Regions from separate parts of the Homo sapiens genome. Here all the other regions are linked to region 3. The links are contacts of gene promoters, found by promoter capture Hi-C in blood cells and fetal thymus (Javierre and others, 2016). All regions are on one chromosome and are shown on one strand. Each heading gives the region's core, a stretch centred on a gene start or on the middle of the fragment in contact. The rest is flanking DNA. Distances are from core to core; before and after follow the strand shown.

What was found. Contacts are between HindIII fragments. The CHiCAGO score rates a contact against its expected background, and 5 or more counts as called.
Region 1: a contact is called between the fragment with the promoter of DIPK2A here and the fragment with the promoter of PLSCR1 in region 3, in 2 of 17 cell types (monocytes and M0 macrophages). The highest score is 8.6, in monocytes.
Region 2: a contact is called between a fragment that was not itself captured here and the fragment with the promoter of PLSCR1 in region 3, in 2 of 17 cell types (M0 macrophages and M1 macrophages). The highest score is 6.7, in M0 macrophages.
Region 4: a fragment that was not itself captured here is called in contact with the fragment with the promoter of PLSCR1 in region 3 in 1 of 17 cell types (M0 macrophages); the score reaches 6.5 in M0 macrophages.

Annotation. Positions count from the first base shown.
Region 1 is chr3:143,970,527-143,973,226 of GRCh38, reverse strand. It overlaps DIPK2A (divergent protein kinase domain 2A), which reads right to left and starts at 1,404. Exons shown (of 3, transcript NM_173552.5): 1 at 238-1,404. The coding sequence starts at 894. RefSeq lists silencers at 79-318, 809-1,458, 1,789-1,838 and enhancers at 937-1,517, 1,569-1,658, 1,929-2,038, 1,518-2,098. The HindIII fragment of the contact is 6,379 bases long and covers 1-2,700 here.
Region 2 is chr3:143,849,902-143,852,601 of GRCh38, reverse strand. No RefSeq gene overlaps it. Among named protein-coding and RNA genes, the nearest start is that of SLC9A9, 2.8 kb to the right of the region's middle. The HindIII fragment of the contact is 1,231 bases long and covers 635-1,865 here.
Region 3 is chr3:146,543,349-146,546,048 of GRCh38, reverse strand. PLSCR1 (phospholipid scramblase 1) reads left to right here and starts at 1,442. Exons shown (of 9, transcript NM_021105.3): 1 at 1,442-1,582. RefSeq lists an enhancer at 1,113-1,592. The HindIII fragment of the contact is 8,607 bases long and covers 1-2,700 here.
Region 4 is chr3:148,949,779-148,952,478 of GRCh38, reverse strand. The region is part of intron 2 of LOC107986045 (a long non-coding RNA gene); the gene reads right to left. Among named protein-coding and RNA genes, the nearest start is that of GYG1, 40 kb to the left of the region's middle. The HindIII fragment of the contact is 6,256 bases long and covers 1-2,700 here.

The DNA.
Region 1 (2,700 bases), core at 155-2,654, 2.6 Mb after region 3:
AATCCGAAATGCGCCCGAATCTAGGTAACAAGAGCAGACTCTCCATCAGCGGGGTCGCCCTCGGCCTCCCTGCACAGCCCCGGGGCTCCCCCGGAGACGCCCCTTCCCACGCCTGCAGCCTGGCCCAGCCCGGCCGAGTCCGAACTGGCGGCAAGCGCTGGCTGAGCCACTTCTCCCGACTCTGATTCCCACGCGCGGCCCCTCCCAGGACGCCCCCTGCCCTGGCTCCGCGCCTACCTGTAGCACCAGCGGCTCGGGGTTGAAGGCCAGGGTCAGCAGCAGCTGCATGCGCTCCGAGTCCTTGAGGTTGCGAAGCAGGAAGCTGCCCGAGTCCTTGGTCTCCGCGTAGCGGCGCACCAGGCGGTCGAGAAGGCGCTGCGAGGGGCAGTGCACCAGGTCCGACCAGCCCTCCACCGCCTCGGGCGTGAGCAGACGCACGTCGCCGTTGAGGCGCGCGAACTCGGTCCGGGGCATGGCCTGCAGCAGGTCGCAGCGGGGCCGGCCGGTGGCCCGCTTGCAGATGCTCTGGTCGAGCTGCGCCAGCTCGCGCTGCGAGCCGAGGCGCTTGAGCACCACTCGGCGGCGGCCGCCCTCGCGGGGCTCGCCGTACTGCGCGAAGTACACGTTCTTCACGTTGAGGAAGTCCAGCAGGCGCAAGCGGCCCCACGCCTCGAATACCACCTGCCCGTTGAGGAAGCGGCGGCACCAGCTCGTGCCGAAGCACGCCGGGCACTTATTGAGCTGCAGGAAGCGCCGGTCGGTCAGTTCGTTGCGCTGCCAAGAGGCGAGCAGCGACGGCGAGTGCAGCACCATCAGCACCAACAGGCTGCCCAGCGCCGCCAGCTTCAGCGAGCGGGACAGGCGGCCCAGCTTCGGGGGCACCAGGCGCCACATACCGCCCGCCCGCCCGCAACGGGAGGGCGAGGGCACCCCCGGGGCGCCCCCGCCGCGCCAAGACCCGGAGAGCTACCGGCAGGAACCCCGGGCGAGAGAAGGAGCTAGCGCGCGGGCTGGGGCGGAGGGCGGAGTAGGTGTGTGAGAGAGGAAGACGGGGAGCGGGAAGGCGCGGGCCTGAGCGGGCTGCGACTTCTCCCAGTCACTAGTCTCCACAACTCTCGAGCTCCCTCCTCCTAGCTCCCCGCCCTCCGACTCCGGCGGCGCCTCCTCCACGCCAGCCAAGTTATAGAGGAGCGGGAGGGGGAGGGAGCGCGGGGACCCGACGGTCGCGCGCCCGTGCCCGCGCGCACGCGCACTGCTGGCTTCGCACAAGAGCTGCGGCGGCAGCCAGCCACGACAAGTGGGGTCTGCGAGGAAAGGAGGGACTCACGGAAGGGGAAGAGGAGCTAGGATGTCTCACACCCACAAGCAGCAACGCACGTCTCAGAGCCGCACACCCTTGCTTGTGCGCGCTGGCTCTCCTGAGACCAAGAAGGGGAGCCGGGGGCGGGGCCAGAGGGGCGGAGCGAGCGCGTCGCGCGCCGCCCGGAAAGCGTAAGCGGGAGCTCGCGGGAGCGGGTGTGGGGGCGGTTCAGAGAGGGGGAAGCTCGGGCTCTTGAGGTGGGGGCATGAACTCGCGGTTTCTGGTTTCAGAAAGAGTCTTAATTACAGTCATCTTTTATGATTATTGTGGTTTACTGGTGCGTTCCTTTCACTATTGTGGAAACGGCCCTTTAAGGGAGGAGGGAATAAGAAGAAATGAACTGAGGAAGTCTATTGCAAATCCTTCCCTCTGGACGGCGCGCGAGGCGGAGGCAGAGCTGGCGCGATTGCCTCCCCTCGCCTTATATGGGTTGGGTGCGCGCCTGGGGGGTGGGGCGAGGCCGGGGAGTGCCCGACGGGGGCTTGTGTTCCCCTCAGCTCGTGCTCCTCGCGGTAGGGGGTGGGGCCTGTGAGGAAGACGGTGAGAAAGGCTCGAGTAGTGGCGGGTTTGTTGGAGCTTCATCTTTGGGGTTGTATCTGTAAAATCATTTAAAATTTTCTTGAGTGAGCACAAAATAAAGTTCTCAAGCCACCGTGTTAAAGGGAAAATAGGATGAAGGGGAACCGACGCGGCCTGGTGTCGCCAGGACGTCTGCCCCAAGCGCCGCGAAGAAGCCGGGAAGAGTTTGCCAGGCTTGCCTCTGCTGCCCGCCGGCTGCCCTAGCCCGTCCCCGGAGCCCTGCGGTTCCTCTCCGCAAAGCTGATTTCCCGGTGCCGCCCCTGAGGGTCCCTGAGGAGCGGGCCGCGAAGCGTTGCCCTGGCGGTAGCCATGGGGACCCGGGGCTGCTTGGTGCTCCGCACGGTCACGTTGACTCAGTCACCCCAGACTGCAAAAGTAAGGCGCAGATGCCGCACGAAAGCACTGTGTTTAGGGATAAGTTTCAGGGGACCCGGACTGTTTAGCAGTAGCGCTAGTAGATACATTATTATGCTATTCACTTTTAGTGCTAGAGTAGTTAAAATGAGAAGTGATTTTTAGTCTGAGGGACAGGTGGTTCCTGATACGTTATTAAACAACTGAGTCTTAACTGAGTTAATTTTAGGGCTTGAACAGTGCTTTTAGAAGACCATGGTAACTGGCATGTGTAGATCAACTCTACAGCGGGTTAATAAGAAACATCTATACCAGGTTATCAAAAGTAACAATACTTTCAGTATTGTTTAATTGTAACAGGTATTTGTTACAAATTCTTATAAGAACTCAGATTTTGAAAAAAAAAC
Region 2 (2,700 bases), core at 1-2,500, 2.7 Mb after region 3:
CTTCTGAGCATCAAGAATCAACACAGAGATAACAGTTCACAGAGGGAAACAGTGAGGTCTGCACCCATTTTTCCCTCCTCAGAGAATGGCTGGAATGCACTTGTTGGGTAGAAGAAGGAAAGGATCCCCTATCCATGCCACACACATTTCTACACTTGCATTGTTAATAAAATGATTCAAATTCTCTAATTTAACTCGTTTTCAGTGATTTTTAATCTCACCTTCCCACTATAATGAAGAGCAGTGGAAAGAACATGGAGTTGGGGTCACATCCTGGGTTCATGGCCCTGGATCCCACAGACCAGACTTTGTAAAGGCTGAAGGAAAGAAACCAAGCATTGAACAGTGAATTTGGGGTGGGCTTAATATTGTCCAAGTGTTTACTATGGGATTTAATTACCCGTGAAATTTTTGAACTTTCATTTCTCTATGGAAATATACTAATGGGAGGGGTCCATATTATTCAAATTTAGGGGCAACTTATGCTAACATGTGACTTTTTTCAGGTGGGGACAGCTAAGATAGGTCTATGGTGAGCTTGAAAATAGGATAGGGGATGAATTTTGGGATGAGGACATCGTGTGGCTTTCAAGCAAACTTAATTACAGTCCTGTCCTGGCCCATTTCAGAAGCTTGGAGTAGGGTGGGGCAAAATATGAAACTTCCATTTCACTGGTCTCAGAGAGGGATAAATAGCAAGGGAAAGGCCACATGAATGAGACGGTGGAATTTTCCTATAACCCAGGGCCTGTGTTGTCTGAAGTATTCTCTGTTAACACTAGGGGCTGAGAGAGAACTAAGACTGGGCATTGTGGAGCTCCAGGGAGATGGAGAGGGGACTTCTCAGTATGTCTCCCTACCCAAAGCAAACTTAGCTTCTCGACACCCTGACCCCACAATCTTCAATGACCTCTTACAAGAATGAGGAGCTCTCAAGTGATTGGTTAGATTCTGTAAAGCTGATTGGATCCCATTCACTAATGGGTGAGATTACCGCACCATGCAAAGTTACACTGGCCTGGGAGGTTCCACTCTTCAGTTCTTTCTTTCATTGTGGCTGGATGGGCAAGCTGAGACAGGGCACACTGACTGCAACAGGCTGGGCCATCCTGTTCTTTCTCTTTGCTGCTTCTCACTTGCGTGTCGCATCTTGCAGTAGCCAGCAGGTATTAATATTGAGATTTAGGGACAGTCAAGAATTCCTCTTTGGTCCTTGTGCCTAAGTTTTGAGTCCATCCCAATTTTATCTGAGAACCTGGAACTAATGATCCTGGTTACCAGGTCACAAAACAGCATGTAATTTTTAACTGATATTGTTTCTTGTGTGAATATCTCCTTCAGGAATCTCATGAAAAATAGTGATTACTGACAGTACAGGATTTGAGAATTTGAGGAACTTTGGCTGTTAGAGTGACCAAGTTTGCTTGTTTGTCTGTGAGTGAGGGGGTTTCCTGGGACACACAACTTTCAGTAGTAAACCAGGAAAGTCCCTGATAAGCTAGGATGAGTTGATCACCCTGGCTGAAAAGCCATCTAAAGGCCAATACACCCCACATGCAATTTAACTCCTACTGGCTGTGTGACCTTGGCTATGTTGCCAAATCTCCCTGAGCCTTAAATTACTCACCAGGAGAAGGGTGAGTATTTTCTGCACATTAAATTAGACTAAGTTAAATTCCTTGGCATATTTTCTGGTCCATAGTAGACTCTCTATTGTTACATGTTTCCATTTTATTTTCTCACTTACGTTGGTACAGCAAAATAAAAAATGATATTCTAAAAAGAAAACACAAAATAGGAAGAATTGAATTCCTTTTCTGGATGGAGGAATTGGAGATGTTTCCTGAGCCCCTTTTCTTCAAGCTTTTCCCCCCAATGTGAAGCAGCATCAGGAATGAACAATGGAATAGTGAATGTACTCCATTCCTGGAATAAAGCAGGGGTCATACATTCAAACATCTGCAGGGGCCACACGGGGACCATGAATGAAAGAAGAGGGATGAATGGACTTGTGGCAAGCTGGTTGCAAATGCAGCAGGCAACCACTCAGCCCCAACAGATTGTGGCCATGTAAGAAGGGCCCAGTGTGCCAGATCTTACAAGTTTTTCTTGCAAAAAGCCATATGATTTTTTAAATGTTAAATATACTGATTTGAATGTGTTGACATCAAACCTAAAACTTTTTAAAAAGACGTGTAAGCCAATCAAAACATTCTATGGGCCATTAATCTTTTGTCAAGTTGCTTCATTGGTTAAAAGAGTGAAACTGGATGTCACGGATCAACCAGAGAATGTTTATTCTACTCAGATGGAATAATTGTGATAAAAGAAAACCAAAGTAATTCAATAATGACAAAAAACAAAAGGACAGGAAGTTTCTGAATTTGTGTTATCTTGTATATCTGACAACTCGACTGAACCTGTGGAGTTGCAAAATCATAAAGGTAGAACCTGCTAGCAAAGCTCCATGAAATGCTTGCAAGCATTAGCTGATAGGTTTCAAAACAGTATGAATATTAGTCATCACAGATATTCCTGCCAAAAAGGGTAGCGTGTCAGAAGAACATCTGCAGCACACATAAATACCCTCTGCTAAGTTAAACTCAGAGAGGAAATAAGCTTCCAAAGTTGCACAAAGCAAAGATGCTGAAACAGCAGAGCTTTGTATTAAGGGGTTGATAGACTTGCTCTCATGGTGAA
Region 3 (2,700 bases), core at 193-2,692:
CAAAAGAGTTCGAGCATTACTACCCAACCACAAAAGAACCCTGAACTGGGAATGAATGTATCCATGACCCATTTGTGAGTAAGTCAGGTGAATCGATTTTGTCCGTACTAGAAGAGGATCAATTGCTTGAGATCACAAATGATGGTGGCCTTAAAAGTATGTTTGAGACAGCTTCAAATCCCATGTTCTGGATTAAACTCAAGGTGGGATATCCTGAGATTGCCACAAAAGCACTGAAGAGTCTGCTTCCATTTCCAACATGCTATCTTTGTGAAGCAGGATTTTCTGCAGTGACAGCAACCAAAACAAGATTACGGAGTAGACTGGACATAAGCAACACACTTCTGGTGTCACTGTCTCCCACCGTTCCCAGATGGGACCTTCTAATTGCAGGAAAACAAGGTCAGGGCTCCCACTGATTCCACATTATGGTGAGTTGTATAATTATTTTATTATATATTACAATGTAATAATAATAGAAGTAAAGTGCGCAATACACGTAATGTGCTTGAATCATCCTGAAACCGTCTGCCACCCGGCCCTGGTCCATGGAAAAATCCTCTTCCGTGAAACTGGTCCCTGGTGCCAAAAAGGTTGGGGACCACTGGTTTATCCAGGGTCATCCAGGTTGGAGTGGGGTCAGGAGAAATGGGGAAATTTAGGTAAAAGTATACAAAGTTACAAACACGTAGGATGAACAAATGGGAAGACCTAATGTACAACATGAGGGCTATAGTTAATGATAGTGGTATTCAGGATTTATGCTAAATAAGTAGATTATAGCTGCTCTTGCCCCAAGGGGGGAAATGTGTAATTATAGGAGTTGATGGATATGTCATACAAATAACTTAAATACACAGAATAAAAACTATTTTAGTTTAAAAAGGAACAATATTTATAAAAAAATAAAGTGAGCTCGAAAACATTCAAATAACTGCTTAAAAATTAAAAAGTAATATCACATAATTTAATAGAAGGAAAGAAAGAGCAAGACAGCAAGAAAGAAAAGGCACCATAAAGAAAAACAATTTTGGCCCCTCCTCATTTGTAGTCTTAAGCTGCCTCTACTCCCTCGCCTTGAAAAGCCACGGGCTTCCGAGGGATGGAGGTCAAAGCCAGAGTAAAGAAAGTTCCCGGGGGAGGCCACTCCCCAGCTGATGACTTTCCAGTTCCAGTTAGTGTCGGAGTCCCAGTTCCTCTCCTTAACCACCGGACAAACGTCTCTGGAGTCTCTCCAATGAGCAAGAAAGCAAGTCGGGGGTAGGGGAGGGGCCTCACACCAGGGGGTGGGCGCAGTCCCTCCTCCAGCTCCTTCACCCTCCAGTAGTCTCGTGGGTCCCCGAGCGCCAGCGCGGGAACCGGGAAAAGGAAACCGTGTTGTGTACGTAAGATTCAGGAAACGAAACCAGGAGCCGCGGGTGTTGGCGCAAAGGTTACTCCCAGACCCTTTTCCGGCTGACTTCTGAGAAGGTTGCGCAGCAGCTGTGCCCGGCAGTCTAGAGGCGCAGAAGAGGAAGCCATCGCCTGGCCCCGGCTCTCTGGACCTTGTCTCGCTCGGGAGCGGAAACAGCGGCAGCCAGAGGTGCGCGGGCGGCTTTCTCTGCCGCCTCCTGGGGACTTGGGCGCGGGAACTGCGCGGAGCCTGCGCTGGGGCCAGGGCCGGGGTCAGGTGTGGAGGGCAACTTGTGGGGAACCGGCGCGAGGGCCCGCAGGTTGTGTTTGCTGCTCTGGGGGTGGAGGATGTGGGGTGAAGGTTGGGGCCAGAAATGCAAGAGGCCTCTGAAAGGGACCCTGGAAGTGGAGCAGGTACACGGCAAGGGGCCCCAGGCGGCCCAGCGGCACCCGGGCTCACCCCAGAACCATTCGAATGACAAGGGGTGCCCTGCCTGAAAACGCCTTGCGGGGCTCAGCTTCCCCTTAGCTACACTGCTTTACAGGTAGAGAGCGGCCCTGAATCCTGGGTAGAGTCTGGGCTCAGGAGCATGTGCCAGCGTAGTGGGGCTATTAGAAGGAATGGTTAATACAGCCTGCAAGCTGTCATTTATCAGTAAGTATTCAATGAAGTCCGCCGGAGCCCACATCTATGCTAGGCCCTCTACAATACCAGCTTAGGAAAGATAGTGGCGGTATCTAGCACGGTTCCTAAGACCATTAGCTCCAGTCAGGCTCCCCGACTTTAAATTCGGCCTCTACTGCTTCACGTCTGTGGACTGTCAGCCACTTTCTTCTTATATATGTTCTTTCCATTGCCTCATCTCTGAAATTGTGTAACTATTAAATGAGCTACAGAGTATTAATGTAAAATTCTTAGAGCAGTGCCTGGCGCTACAGAAAGTACTCAGTGAAAGTTAGCTCTTATTATTTTAAATATTTGACAAAGTTCCTGCTTCTCCAAGCTGATTCTCTGGTTCCCAGGTGGTTTCATTCATGCACTGTTATTCCTGGAAGTCTTGGCATGGCCACTTCCCAGTTCCAGGAACAGGCAGTCGTTGTTTTTTCTGGCTTATCACATTGAGATACATGGTTACTACAAGTGACACTTAAACGTGTCAGACAGTTTGGGGGCTCCCTTCTTGAACTTTTTCTAAGAGCAAACCTTTGTCTTAATGCCACCCTGTTTACAACAATAGTAGGGCTTTGAACAATGAGAAAATGCGGGGAAATGAAAAAGACATATAAAGGGAAAGAGTGGATTTATGC
Region 4 (2,700 bases), core at 156-2,655, 2.4 Mb before region 3:
TAGTGGAGAATGTGACTGTATTTGGAGATAGGACTTCTAAAGAGGAAATTGAGGTAAAATGAAGTCCAATGGGTGGGTCCTAATTCAGTATGACAGGTAACCTTATAAGAAGAGGCAATTAGGACATAGACATACGCAGAAGAAAGACCATGTGAAGACACTGGAGGAAGAAAGCCATCTACAAGTCAAGGAGAGAGGCCTCAGAATGAAATCAATCCTGCTGACATTTTGATTTGGGACTTCTGGCCTCTAGAATTGTGAGAAAAGAAATTTCTCTTATTTAAGCCATGCAGTCTGTGGTATTTTGTTACAGCAGCCTTAGCAAACTAATACACACACACACACACACACACACGCACACATACACACACAAAGGAAAACATGTTAAATGTTGAGCAATGGGGGATTAATGAAACACGTTTTGGCTCATCTGCATGATGGAGCTCCATTCCTACATTTAAAGTGATGCTGATGAACACTGTCATGGAAAGCTACTGATGCTATGTCATTATATAAAGCATATTATCCAATAGTATGTATAGCATAATATTTTATTTGTATGTGTGTGTATATATATAAAGTAAATATTAGTTTGGTCTGAGTGGTGATACATTCCTTTATTTGTTTAGGAAAGTAAAAATTTGTGCTGCTGGCTGCTGGATCATGACGTTCCCAAGTGAACACTAACAATGCTTACAGAATATAAACAATGTTCAGACAAGGCCACTCTGTGACTATGTTTGGAACAAGATAAAGATGAGGCCACTCTATAACCATAAAAATGACTAGATACATTCTTCTTTTAACAGAAGTGACTGCTATTTTCTTTCTTTTTAAATGAATGACAACTCTTACCCACTTTAGATTTTTTCCTTGCTAAGATAAAAATTTTTTCCTTGCTAAGATAAAAATTGTACCTTCATTTTGACAGAATCTCATCCAGATTTGATCCCTACTTTCCTAATTTCTCCTTAAATTTATCCATTAAATTCCCAGATCTTATAAGAAGCCCTCTCAACTCCCTCTTATCAAGAGGCTCCAGAAATCTGGTGGTTTAGGTCAATGGGCCTTAACAATTCCAAATTAGATCAATTTGTCCCCTCCCACCGACCACAACTAGCAGGACATTCCATCTCAGTTGAGTTTTAGGAGGCTCTTCTTGATTTATAAAGCTGTTGAGGATTTTAGGATGTTCATTGCCCTTTTTAAGAGGGCAGCTTCCTTTCCTCTACCAAGCTGGGCACGGGAATTTTTTGTTGTGTGCCAAGGCCAAAAACCTGGGGTTCAGTCCAGGTCACTGCTTGAGGACTGTTTGGGAGTGGGGCATAGATCTTCACCATTTCTTGAACCCAATGCCACTGGTCTCCTCCTTGGCAAAACTTCTGTCCTCCTGGCTTAGGCCTCCACTCTCAGGACTAGTCTCTTTCTGGGTGGATAGAGTGTTAGCTTTCTAGCACCTCCTGGCTTCTGGTTTGTAGCTCTGCAACTATACTTATTAACAAGTGGCTGAGGCTAGGAAGCTCAGACTTAGAACACGAAATTTGCTTGGGAGTGAGGGAGGAAAAAGCATCTCTCCTTCTTTTACAGTGGTGCATTCAGCACATACCATTTTCTAAATAACACTCTGACTCATATTCTAGAAAGGGTTTTGATATATGTCCTGCAGTGTTAAAAGTGGTATTATGGGCCTTTAAAGTGTTTACTTTTGTTACTTATTTTTACTTTCTAAATTTTCTTTCGTTGAACATTTGCTTCCAAAATCAGAAAAGTCATTTATTTTAGCTAATAAAATAACGAAACAGAATAAGAAGAAAGGAAGAATGAAATAAGTAAAACAAGCCTGTCAGTAGTGGATGTATAGACATATTGATGTAGTATGAATTTAGGACAGCCTGAAAATTGGCTTTCTCTCAGTGCATAAAGGCTGGCCCTATGGAAGTGGTAGGAGGAATGAGGTTCATTGTTGAGGAGAAATGTCTTTTGAAAGGGAAATGACATAATGGCTTTTACCCCTAGCTCATATTAGAATTACTCGATACCCAGGCCCCACCCCCAGTGATTTATGTGATTACTGTTTAAAGGAAGGAGAACATGGATGAGGAATGAGGCCCTCAATACAAAACTTCCCTATTTACATTTTTCCTTAGAGCCATCTTTGGAGGAAAGGTGGGATCAGATTATTCCCTTTTATTAGTGTTTTCTCAGATATTGTAAGGCTACCCCATTGATGTAAAAACTATGTTTACTGTTACAGGGAAGAACATTTGAAAGCAATTTTTACTTGTACATTTTATTGTATTGTATGTTAGAAAAATATGGCCGGGCAAGGTGGCTCAAGCCTGTAATCCCAACACTTTGGGAGGCCGAGGCGGGCGGATCACGAGGTCAGGAAATTGAGACCATCCTGGCTAACATGGTGAAACCCCATCTGTACTAAAAATACAAAAAAATTAGTTGTGTGTGGTGGCGGGCACCTGTAGTCCCAGCTACTTGGGAGGCTGAGGCAGGAAAATGGCGTGAACCCAGGAGGCGGAGCTTGCAGTGAGCCGAGATCGCACCACTGCACCACTGCACTCCAGCCTGGGCAACAGAGTGGGACTCCGTCTCAAAATAAATAAATAAATAAATAAAAAATATATATATACACCAAAGTCGTGATTTCATGGCAATGATATAGTTTTTAAACAACTAAGTTCATTT